Linked DNA regions of Homo sapiens: region 1 is linked to region 2. Evidence: promoter capture Hi-C in 16 types of primary human blood cells and fetal thymus (Javierre and others, 2016). All regions are on one chromosome and are shown on one strand. Each heading gives the region's core, a stretch centred on a gene start or on the middle of the fragment in contact. The rest is flanking DNA. Distances are from core to core; before and after follow the strand shown.

Region 1 (6,194 bases), core at 3,629-6,128, 69 kb after region 2:
GAGTCACCTTTAAAGATAATCTACAAAAAAAAGGAGGGAGATCATAGTTACAAGGAGCAGGTATAATGCTAACTTTTATTCAGCATTTTCTCTGACTTAGATCACAAGAAAACTTGGCAGTGAGTAACATGTCAAAACCTAAAAGAAAGTCAGTAGGTCTCCAGAAAATTGATATAGGCTATTTCTCTGTTCTGAATTCCTTTAATTCAATTTGCACGGGTATCCATATTTTAGGGAATCCCCTTATATATCAACTGCAGCGAGATGCTTGTAGACCCCTACCTGCAGAGGTGCAGAACTAATGACAGATGATAGGAAAAGTTATGAGAAAAAGATGGCATTGAAAATGTAGGGTAGGCCAGGCATGGTGATCCATGCCTGTAATCCCAACACTTTGGGAGGCTAAGGTGGGTGGATCACCTGAGGTCAGGAGTTCGAGACCAGCCTGGCCAACATGGCGAAACCCCGTCTCTACTAAAAATACAAAAATTAGCTGGGCATGGTGGCACGTGCCTGTAATCCCAGCTCCTGGGGAGACTGAGGCAGGAGAATCTCTTGAACCCAGGAGGCAGAAATTGCAGTGAGCTGAGATTGCGCCACTGCACTCCAGCCTGGGCAACGGTGTGAGACGCTGTTAAAAAAAAAAAGAAGAAAAGAAAGAAAGAAAATGTAGGGTAGAATCTACAAGGAAAGCATGGTGTGGAAAATCATAGTTTAAAAATAGAACATTGGTTTGCCACTTATTGTCAATGTGATTTGGGGCATCCTGTCTCTAGGCCTCAATTTCTGCAACTATAACATGGGTAATAATAATTCCTTATGCAAAATATTTTTATGACAATTAAATAAAACAACAGAATAGCGCTGTAAGCAATAAGTCATGATACAAATGACATTTTAGTAGCAATAAAATAAGAATAATGAAGAGTTCAAAGGTGATTTTTTTTATCGGCCATTCTCATGACAGGGTTAACCATGCCATTCTCACTAGGAAAAATGAAAGACTTTGTATAAATTCTCTATTTCCAAACAAGTTGAGAAACTCATTTTGCAAATTTTTTTTTTGAAAAACTGGAGCCTGAAGAGGTTCAGGGCCCAAGTAGAGGAGCCTGGGGAAAACACATGCCAAAGCAGCAAAGGAGACAGTCACGTTCAGCTTGTAGGGCTGCCACTGAGAAACATTTCAACTCTGGAGCATGGCTGAGCAGAGAGACCTGAAAGATGGAGCCTTGTATCTGGGAAGCCATACTCTGAAAATGACATAGTAAAGGAAGTTCTGACCTGAGTTTATCTTATTCCTCTTCTTCCTCAACGTGCATAAAAACATTCCTTCGCTTCAAAGCTATGCCAGATGAACTGTCTTAATCAGATAGGCAAGAACAAAGAATGGTGAGAGAAAATGCACACGGATGCCTAATTAGAGGAGGAAAAGGATAGCGGCTTCTGTCTTCCCCTTAATAGACTGTCAATCCTGCCTTTCCTCAGGTCTTTGAACGCACACTCAGATGGCTCATGCCGATGCTCTCAATCGCTCCCTGCGTCAGAGACGAAGATACCTTTTTATAGTCACTGCAGGGAATAGTCTCTGGCTAGTAAGCCTGTTTCATTTCAGAGGGAAAAATCAGCCACTACAAGGCTAGCTGGTAGGAAGAAGCGCTCCTTTCCGAGTCCAACTGTTCCACCCATCGCTCCCTTTGAAGTCAGGCTGACTCAACATCACTCTTTATTGCTATCTAGTCTAGGTACTGAACTTGTAAAAACAGCATTTTAAAGGTTAATAGCTGGGGAATTATATAACCCTTCAATATATAAGGAAAAAGAGCCCATAAATACCCTGTTAAACACAAACACGTGCATGGCAGTGAGAAGCCTTCTGAACAGTCTCACATTTTTACATCCACCCAACCAACCATGTCCGATTGATTGGCCCCCTTAACATGCATTGTTGGTTTTTGTTTTTGTTTTCCTTCAAAAGGATGGTTATGTGCAAACGGGCATGCATTTAATTGCTACTAAATCTTCTGGGACTTAAGGAAGTAAGTCCGTGTCTAAGCCAATAAAATATCATCTGCTTTGTGTTCTCACCAAGTACTAGATGTGCATCATTATGCCAGCTGCCTAAGCACTGTCCCGTCAGCAAAGTACACACCAGCTTCCCTAACCAGGCCAACAAATAGAGTGAGCACCCAAATTCTAAGCAAGGCTTCCACTCAGGGCAAGTTCAGCCAAAGTGAGCCATTTTTAGCCGCCAATGAGATCTCCAAGGAGAACTGAACCATGAGGGCTCACAAAGTCTGGAACCAAACCCAGTGCCAAAAAAAAACAAACAAAAAAAAAGTATGAGAGAGAGTATGAGAGGGGAAATGCTAAGCTCCACCAGAATTCAGTTAACTGGGGTTCTTCCTACTAACAAGCCCAAAAGCCAGAGAACAAGGTTCCTTTCTGACTTCTGCCCACCCTCATCAAAACAGTTCTTTACAGGCGGTTATCAAAGCCCAGGCTTCATGTCTGCCACTCTCTTGAGGATACCTTCTTATCTGATTAAATAGAATATTATGCTAAATATTCAGCCACCCCAGCACTGGTTGTGTGGGTGTGCTGGATAAAATCTTCATGAAAACGCCATCACGGGGTCATTTGTTTAATTTCCATTCTGCAAAATATAAAAATAGAATGAGCTGCCGTGAGGGGTTGAGGCTTGACAGCTTCAATGAGAAGCCTCCAAAGCACAAAAACCACGCTGTTCTGCTGGCTCGCTTGCATTCTCCCTCTGCCAGAGGAAAACGGGGAAGAGAAAAAACCTGAAAGCAAGGTGCTGCTTTCACTTATCTTCTGCTCTTTTCCCCTCTTTGGCCTTTTCTTGCGTTTGCTCGCTGCATCTTCCTCTTGTTCCATCTGTTTCCTCTCCCTCCTCCTCTTTGGCTTGCTTCCTCTCTCCGCCACCCTACCCTCCCCTCCCTCATCATTTCTATGTGTCATTTCTCTTTCTCTCCTTCCCAGGGACTGGTTCTCCTCCCATGCTTCCAGCACCCTCACCAGGGCTGCCCTTGCCTTCCGGGGCAGCCTGTATCTCCAGGTTCGGTGGATCTCACAAACTTTTCTAGGAATTGCTCTCTTCCATCCCTGCCTCTCCCCCTATCCCCTACCCCTTCCCCAAGTCCCAGACATGGAACATATCTAGAAAGATGGGATTTCAGAGTTCAATTAGATTGGATGGCAGATGAGCTGCAAAGATGGCCTTTTTATACTTCCTCATCTAGATTAATATGTTTACTATCCATTGAGCTCAGCAACTCATGGGGTGGGAGAGTAGGTAGGTAGTACATCACTGGTCTTGTGTTTTTGTATAAATCAATTTTTATTTTTATGAAGCTTTTTTAAAAAAATAAATGCAAGTTGCACTCTCCAATTCTGACCCCTGAAGTCCATGGCCACCCCCAAATTAACCCTGTTGCAAGCTTGGCTCAGAAGGGAAAAACTTCTCTTTTACCAGAAGATCCAGAGTTGCACCAAGAGCCCATGAGGGTGCTGACAGGAGAAAGATACTTCCTGTTTTATGCCCATTAGGATCTCAAAAAGGTCTCACCATTTGACCTAGTTTCAAGCCAAAGGATTCAGAGAGTTTTAAGCCAGTTAGAATGGCTGATGAAACCAACACAGTTTAGCTCATTCTGTATGCCTGGTATATGCCTAGAATGGGTTATTCACCTGTGATGCTCATGAACAACTAGAGATATTCCTCTCCCCTACTGTGGATCACCAGCAACTTTCTGAAGACAACATTGCTGTTGGTTTAAGGAACACCTAAGAGGAAAGATGGTTAACAGACCACTATGTCACAAATTCATCAACGTCAACCCATTCCAGAAAAGTATTTAAATATCTTATAGATCTGTGTATGAGGCTGCTGCCAAGTGGTCCACCAACTAATAAATTCTATTCTCATGCCTACCAAATGAGGCTTTAATAAATTAAGGTGACCCTCATAAGACCATGTGCCTACTTACCATCCCGTTTCCTAAGATACTTTCTCTCTCTCTTTCTCTTTCTCTGCAGTAACACTGTTGCCACTCCTCCTGCCTGTTATTGGCAACGTCCATTCATTATGCAGATGTGCAATGCAGACCCACCAGGTATGAAGCAGAGCAGATACTGGAGTACACCTTGGAAGTCAGAGTCTGTATACACCACAATAAAGGGTATATGGAACTCTTACAGCTAAAATATATGTGCAGTGTTTCTGGTTTGTACATATCGGGGCACTGGATCAAATCAAGGAATGAAGGCTTTTATTACCATTTGAAGAATGACCGTGCCTAGACAGGAAAAGAAATGTGTTTCCTGATGCACCAGTCCACAGTTGCAAGACGGAGAAAGGAGAAGAAGAAAGTAAAAATCTTGATCAAGCTGAAAGATCCATGAAAAGTAAGAGTATGAAGTGCAGCAGACACCCCAGGAGAAAGTGACCTCTTCTGCAGGGCAAGCAGAATGGGTGACAATTCCTAGCAGTGTTGTAAACAGCAGCCCAAAGACACAAACACTGAAAACTACATGCCACCTGTGCAAAAGCAGCCGACAGTTGGAGCAGCACAGTGGAAACACCTCTGGAGTGCAGCTGCAGACCTAGGGCTGGTGATTTCAGTGACAAGCATACATATTACAGATGTGTGTATTGAGAGGGCCCACCAGTGAGCTAATCTGCAAGGACATCAAATGACTACTATGGTGGAAAAGCAAAGGCTGGAAGGAGATGGCAGGGACAAATGCCATCTCCTTAGAAGGATGTGATTTCAGCCAGGCGCAGTGGCTCACGCCTGTAATCCCAGCACTTTGGGAGGCTGAGGTGGGTGGATCACAAGGTCAGGAGTTCGAGACCAGCCTGGCCAACATGGTGAAACCCCATCTCTAGTAAAAATACAAAAAATTAGCTGAGCATGGTGGTGGGCGCCTGTAATCCCAGCTACTCGGGAGGCTGAGGCAGGAGAATCACTTGAAACCGGAAGGCGGAGGTTGCAGTGAGCCCAGATTGCACCACTGCACTCCAGTCTGCACAATAAGAGCGAAACTCCATGGAAGGAAGGAAGGAAGGAAGGAAGGAAGGAAGGAAGGAAGGAAGGAAGGAAGGAAGGAAGGAAGGAAAGAAGGAAGGAAGGAAGGAAAGAAGGAAGGAAAGAATGTGATTTCATTTCAGGCCTATGATCATTGAACACAGCTGATCAGGCAACCAAATAGGGCACTCACTTTTTGTGACAATGTCAAATTGGCACCCCAGCTTGGCTAGGTATTGATCAGTTGCTCATAATGGTTTCCTTCCAACACTATCACCAAAGCACAGCCCCAAATCTCCAAAACCAAACAGCTTTTGAGCACGGACGGAAAAAACTAAAACTACCACACGCCCTTTTGAGACCTGGATCTCTTGAACACCAGTGACGCCCAGCAGAACTCTTCATCCAAATTGCAAGGTGAGGATGAGATCTCCTAAGCAAGTTACAAATAAATACGCCAAAGGAAAGAGCCTTCGGGCAAACACTAGAAACCTCGCTGTACACCATCAAAGGCAACTAAAGCTCTAAGCTGCAGTGAAGGTCCCATAAATAGGAACATTCAGTACAAGCAAGAGACATGATCTTCAAGTAAGGAACAAAGGCAGGAGGCATAGTTGAATAGAGGGAATAAGAGTTACATGTCTACACTTTCCTATCTAACCTCCTAAATATTATTAAATGAAAGAGAGAAGAGAGAGAGATCGGTGTGTGTTACACTGGGAAGCAGGAGTGCCTCTCTTTGACTGTATCTGTTCCACAGTGAGATTCTATATCAGCTTAGGAGTATAGTGGGACCTTGGGGTAGTGTGTAGAAATGTAGCATTTTCAGCCTATTTCTACTATTCAGTTTCCTGAACTCCAAGAGAGAGCCCCAGCTGAGATCCGCCCCTCCCCAAAAGTTCCCAGGAGAAGGGCTCCTCATCCATAAAACACTAAAAATACTATTTGTATCTCCAAAAGGTGATGTACCCATGTAGGCGTTGGCAGAGGAGAAAGCTCAGCCCCCTGCACAAATTTCTTTGTCCTTGCCCAGAGTAGTGGGAGTTTTACATCTGCTGCTGTCATGAAACATTTTATTATTTTTTACAAGCCTTTTTAAAAATTATTATTTCCTAGGAGGAAAAAAAATCTAGAGATTTGCCAAGC
Region 2 (5,815 bases), core at 1,354-3,853:
CTGGAAGGCCCAAAATGCCCATCTTCTGCATAACGGATCCTACTCCTCAGTCCCCACCCCGCAAAGACACATGGCTCATCCTGTTTCTCCTGCCATTCTTCATATTGTTCCCTTCAGCCAGTCTTATGCACCCAACCTCATTCTTTTCCTGCTGTTTTCTACTACCCATCTGTATTTGTCATGGTGTCAGCCTCTTCCTTCAAGAAGTCTTCCTCTACTTCTCCAGAACTCTCTCTTTTCTAGTACAATCAGTACCACACAGCACAGTATGTTTTCCAATGGCTCCCACAGGTCTTCAATTTTTTTTTTTTTTTTTGAGACAGAGTCTCACTCTGTGGCCCAGGCTGGAGTGCAGTGGCACAGTCTTGGCTCACTGCAGCCCCTGTACCCAGGTTCAAGCGATTCTCTTGCCTCAGCCTCCCAAGTAGTTGGGATTACAGGAGCCTGCCACTACACCCAGCTAATTTTTGTACTTTTAACAGAAATGGAGTTTCGCCATGTTGGCCAGGGTGGTCTCGAACTCCTGACCTCAAGTGATCCACACGCTTCGGCCTCCCAAAGTGCTGGGATTACAGGTGTGAGCCACTGTGCCCAGGTGTTCATTTCTTATACAAGCCTCCCCTCATCTTCCTTCTCAGCCTCTACAACCCCTTACTCTACCTATCCTTCCCCCACACCCTCCTCAACATCACCACTATTAGCTGTTACTAGACTGAGCTCACAGAAATATTCAGTAAGTACTTACTGAATTGAAATCAATGTAATTGAACAGATTTGGAGAAGGAATTCCAGGGAAAGTGATCAATGACTCAGTTGCTCCGCACAAGAACACAAATCCATTAAGAGACAGGACCCTAAAGTCTCAAAGTAAATATGTAGGATTCGTGGTACCGATGAACAAGTGAGGACTCCCTGCCCTCCACCAGGCAAGGGGCTTGGCTCAGACACAACTTCCTGAAGCAGCAGTCCTGACCAGGGCTGTGTAGAGCTGCTCTAGGGCGCCCTGCAGCAATTCTCTACGTGAGGGAAGCTCAACCTTCTCCCATTACCCAGATGCCACATTGACCTAGGCAAAAAACTAGCTGGTACAAACCACAGTCTTGTAGGTATCGATGTCTAAAGACTCTGATATGGTAGGAAATGTGACTCACTCAATGTCAATATTTCACTTCCACACAAGTGAGCCAGTTAAGGCAATCCGGTGTGGCCAAACATAAAATAAGATTGAAACGGAGTCCTGAAATATAAACCACTTAACTGTTCTCTGGCCTTTTACTATCTCCTTCTGTAGAAAGGGAGCCATAGTAATACCTACCTCAGAGAGTTTGCGTAGGGATGAAATCTGGAGGTACATGAAGTGCGCAACATAGTGGCCCGCACATGGTAAGGGCTCAATAACTATTAGCTGTTATTATTTTTATTATTTATTTCGCTGCGAGGATCAAGGGAGATGGAATGCAGCGTAAAGCCCCACGTAAACGTGTCGTGCAACATGAAGCCCCTCACCCTGAGTTGGGGAGCGGGTGGCACGCGTGGAAGCTGAATGCCACCATCCCTGGGACCAGGCGCAGCGCCCTCCAGAAGCGCCTCTGGTGACGGGCTCCTGTTCTCCCCCAGGACGTTTCCCCCAGAATGCCCCGGGGCCCTGGACGGCTCTGGAGAGGACGGGAGGGAAGGGAAGGAGACGGGCGGAACGGGGACGTACCTGCTTTCACTGCACTCCTTCCGCTCCCTCACCCTCAGCCACTTGCGGAGGAGGAAGCGTTTTCGGCGCGGGGACGCGCTGGGTGTGGAGCAGTTGGACCACGGGGTGTCCTCGTCGCTGGAGGGCGTGATCTCGATGGACGGCAGCTGCAGGAACTCCTTGCCGGGGGCCAAGACGGCGGGCAGGTCCCGGGCCAGCCCGGCCTCCAGGCTCTGCTCCTGTACGTTCTTCATGCGGCGCATCTTGAAGCGCCGGCGGCGAAGCGTGGGGGTCGACGAACTGGACCAGACCGGGCTGCCCTCGGGCGCACCCTGCGGCTCGGGCACCTGCAGGGCGGGCAGCGGCCGGTTCTCCATCATGTTGGCCGCCGGCATGGGGGCCGTCGCCTCTGCGCTCCCCCTGAGCCCTCCGCCAGCGGCCTGGTTCGCGTCTCCCTCTGGCTGTTCCCCACCCTCGGCCCCGCGGCACACTCCCCAATCCTGGGGCCGAAGGAACAAGTTCCTTTCCCGGAGCGCAGCGAGGAAGGGACGCGAGGGGACGCGGCGTAGCGCGCCGCCGCCCGGAGTCTAACTTTTCGGAGCGCGCGTCCTCCGGGCCGTCAGCCGCCGGCGAGGCCACCCGGGAGGGGCGGGAGCCGCCTGCCAGCCACTCGGCAGCCCTCCTGGGGCTCCCCTCGCGCGCCCGCTTGTTTTTCTTCCGCTGCGCTTCCTCGCTTGCTGGCGTCTTTGCCTTAGCGGGACTCGGCAGCCAGGGGCCCCAGGGGGCGGTGCAGCAAACTCTCAGCGGTTTGCGTTCAGCAGACCAGGTTGGGGAGCCGGCTTGGCGCTGCAGGGAGGTAGAGAGCGGGAGGAAGAGGCAGTGGTAGGAGGGAAAGGGAGAGAGAGACAGAGAGAGAGAGAGAGAGAGGAAGCGAGACACTGGATAAAAACAAAAAAGGAGGAGGAGGAGCGGGGGCTGGGGGCGGGGTGAGGGGGGCTATCCTGAATGGGCTAGCACTGGCAGCGACCGCTAGTGTAACTGTACACGGATTCCCTCGGGGAGGGACTCGACCTCCAAGTAAAGGCTGCTCCAATCAGCCTACTGAAATAGGATCACAAACCAAACTTTCTCAGGGCAACGATTGGCCAGGCAACTCCCATTAGTCGAACTCGGCTATTTCCTTGGGGGTGGGGGGTGCAGAGAAAGGGGAGTCAATGAATTCAGTCCTCACTCTCTCAGGCCACCCATGATACAGGGTTGAAGGAAAATGAGGAGACTTTTCAACTAGCTCTTGTCTCCTAAGAAAGGCAGTTTAAATTATTTGGGGGCGTGAGTAGTGGCACTGCAGGCCGGAGTATAGTCAGAGGAGGAAAGCAAGGTTGCTGGAGGCTGCTTCCAAAATGACAAGCTGAGAAGAGGACAGTTCTCCCGTGGCGGCGTGAGCTGAGGATACCAGACATGACATACCAAGGAAAGACAGACAACAGGGTCTGAGAGACAAAGGACACAGGACCAGTAAGGAAAATGGGGCCTGAACCCTGTACATGAGCCAGCTGCCAGTACCATAGCCGCGTCCCTAGCAAAGAATGAAATGAGGAGTCGGTGAGCACCCACAAAGCAATGCATCCAACAGAGCCCCAGGGAGTCGAGGGTACCCCCCCTTACATTGCTGAGGGCTGATTCAGTTCTGCTTCAGCCTGCCATGGACTGAGTCACAGAATCCAGTATGTCCCCATGTCATGGAACCTAGGAAGTCTGGTTCAGTCCTGGTAGCATCCCAAGATGTGCTGAACCACACTCACTCTCTAGACCCAGGCCCTAAGAGATCATCAACCCTAGAACCGATCCATCCTATTTAGGTGCTCTCTGTGGGCACTGAGTCTAACCCAGCCCAGCTCCTAGAGCAGGGCTGTAGCAGCCATTCTCCTCCTTCAACCCCAGCCCAATGCATTTGTCTCTTGGGTCAGTAACTGTTTTGTTTTGTTTTGTTTTTAAGAGACAAAGTCTCACTCTGTTGCCCAGGCTGGAGTGCAGTGGTGCAGTCATGGCTCACCGCAACCTTGAATTCCTGGGCTCAAGCTGTCCTCCCAGCTGAGCCTCCTGAGTAGCTGGGAGTACAGGTGCGCACCACCACACGCAGCTAAGTTTTATTTCTTTTTGTCGATATGAGGTCTTGCTATATTGCCCAGGCTGGTCTCAAACTCCTGGCCTCAAGTGATCTGCCCACCTTGGCCTCCCAAAGTGCTGAGATTACAGGCATGAGCCACCATGCCCAGCCTGGTCAGTAACTTTCAAAGAGATCATGAGAAGCACCCAAGAACATACCATGAAGTCCACAATCTGATCCACCCTTCTTTTCTGCCTCTCTCAGAGTCCAGTTTCCATCTGGGAGCCAATGCCCAGCTTCCGTGCCAGGACAAAAGTCACATTTCACAAGTGTCCCGAAGCTGAGGAAAATTCACATCCCTAAAGATCACAAGAATTCACTGCAAGTAAATACATCCCTGCAGTTCAGCAAGACATCAAGGATGACAGCTGGCTATGGATCTACCAAGCTCTGCAATGACACTTGTCAAGTATGGAAAAGCTCAAGGCATCCTGACATTACACAACTTTTGAGAGGCTGGGAAACCAAGGGAAATATTTCTTCCTCAGGGAGAGAGATACTGCGGCTGAAGAGCCAAGGCCAGGCCCTCCCATAAATGACTCCCTGGAATGTCAGCCCCCGTTTCTGAAATCCAGCCACTGGCCCTCTCAGGAGTGATTTGGTTTCACTCTACTTTAACTCCTGGACATAGCACAGAAAGCAGAAACCCCTTGCCATCAGGTGTCAGGCCTGCCAAGGTCACCTCTTCCGGCTCCAGGGATGCTGAGGAGATTGCACTGTAACTCCAAACTTCAGGATCGGGAGCTAAGCCAAGTTCCACAGAGTTTGTTCACTGCCTTGTACTTCCTCCAAGGACGAGTGTTTTGCAAGGGATCTGATAACTTCCCAGTTCAAGGAACCTGAGTTTTGGGCGGGCTCTTGACATAGAAGATGAGGGTCTCAGGGGCTTATGGGAAGAAAGGAAGCCAGGACACCACCATTCGCTTGGAGGCCAAAAACACAAAAGGATGGTCCACAAGACAGGGGCCAGAAGATTCTATGGGCAGCTTGGGAAGAGGGAGAAGAAACAAGGGAGGAAGCTTTAAGTTTGTTCTGGGCACTCTGAATTTAAGTGTATACCTCTTACAAGGAAGAAAAGCCACCAGCACCCTCTTCCCACACACTTCAGCCACTTTTCCCACTCACAGTAGATTCTGGAACTGAAATCCTGTGAGATTTAATTCAAGCCTTGGGCACAGCAGTGGCTAAGAGTGATCATTTACATTTCACCCGGCCTGAGGGAAAACCTCCAAGCAGGAATCTAAAATGTTTCACTTGATTGGGAAGCAGATACCCTGAGCTCTCTTAGCCTGAACGCTGTCCTTACTCACTTGCACCTGCAGTCCCTTCTTTTTTTCAAGCCATAACCCTTTTGACCGTTAAAACCCTGTTCAAAACACATCCTTCAGCCCTTTCCAGCTGTTTCTGTTGCCCATGGCTCTGGCAAGTAAGATAATAAATGAGGCACTGCTTTGAAATATGAAATGCCCTACAGCTGTGAGCCAACATTACTGTTAAGACTATAAGCTCCTTGAGAAAAGAATCAAGTTTCTCCTTCCTTTAATTCTCTCCAGTATCCTGTGCTTGTTATGTGTATGGTGACCTTTACACTTTTGGAAAGAGCTTTCATACATCACACTGTGTCTTCCCAGCGGCCTTTACAATTGATGAAAGTGGGACAGAGAGATTCAGTAGTTTATCCAAGGTCACAGATAAATGATGATGGCTAATCAATGACAAGGCCAGAATTGGAACTCATGCCTTCTGAAGCCAGTTTAGAGGCCTCCAAAAGTGTAGAGAAACAATTTCTCAAAGTAGCTGGTGCCAACATCAGAACCAAAGAGTTTTCATGCCCTGCGTCAGAATCTCAGCGATTGCACTTGCTCCCCAAGTCTCCCCACTCCCATATTTCTTCTCTCCAATATTTGGCTCTCAGCGACCGCACAGTTCTCTGTGAAACAGACCTCACCTTTGCCCCCATTCCC

Evidence for each region. Contacts are between HindIII fragments. The CHiCAGO score rates a contact against its expected background, and 5 or more counts as called.
Region 1: a fragment that was not itself captured here is called in contact with the fragment with the promoter of GRAMD1B in region 2 in 1 of 17 cell types (fetal thymus); the score reaches 5.1 in fetal thymus.

Annotation. Positions count from the first base shown.
Region 1 is chr11:123,359,714-123,365,907 of GRCh38, reverse strand. It overlaps a transcript of GRAMD1B not described here. Among named protein-coding and RNA genes, the nearest start is that of MIR4493, 19 kb to the left of the region's middle. The HindIII fragment of the contact is 2,836 bases long and covers 3,461-6,194 here.
Region 2 is chr11:123,427,057-123,432,871 of GRCh38, reverse strand. It overlaps GRAMD1B (GRAM domain containing 1B), which reads right to left and starts at 2,603. Exons shown (of 20, transcript NM_001387025.1): 1 at 1,706-2,603. The coding sequence starts at 2,079. It overlaps LOC124902776 (a long non-coding RNA gene), which reads left to right and starts at 1,658. Exons shown (of 2, transcript XR_007062928.1): 1 at 1,658-1,925; 2 at 4,056-5,815. RefSeq lists silencers at 1,976-2,025, 2,136-2,465. The HindIII fragment of the contact is 5,032 bases long and covers 1-4,872 here.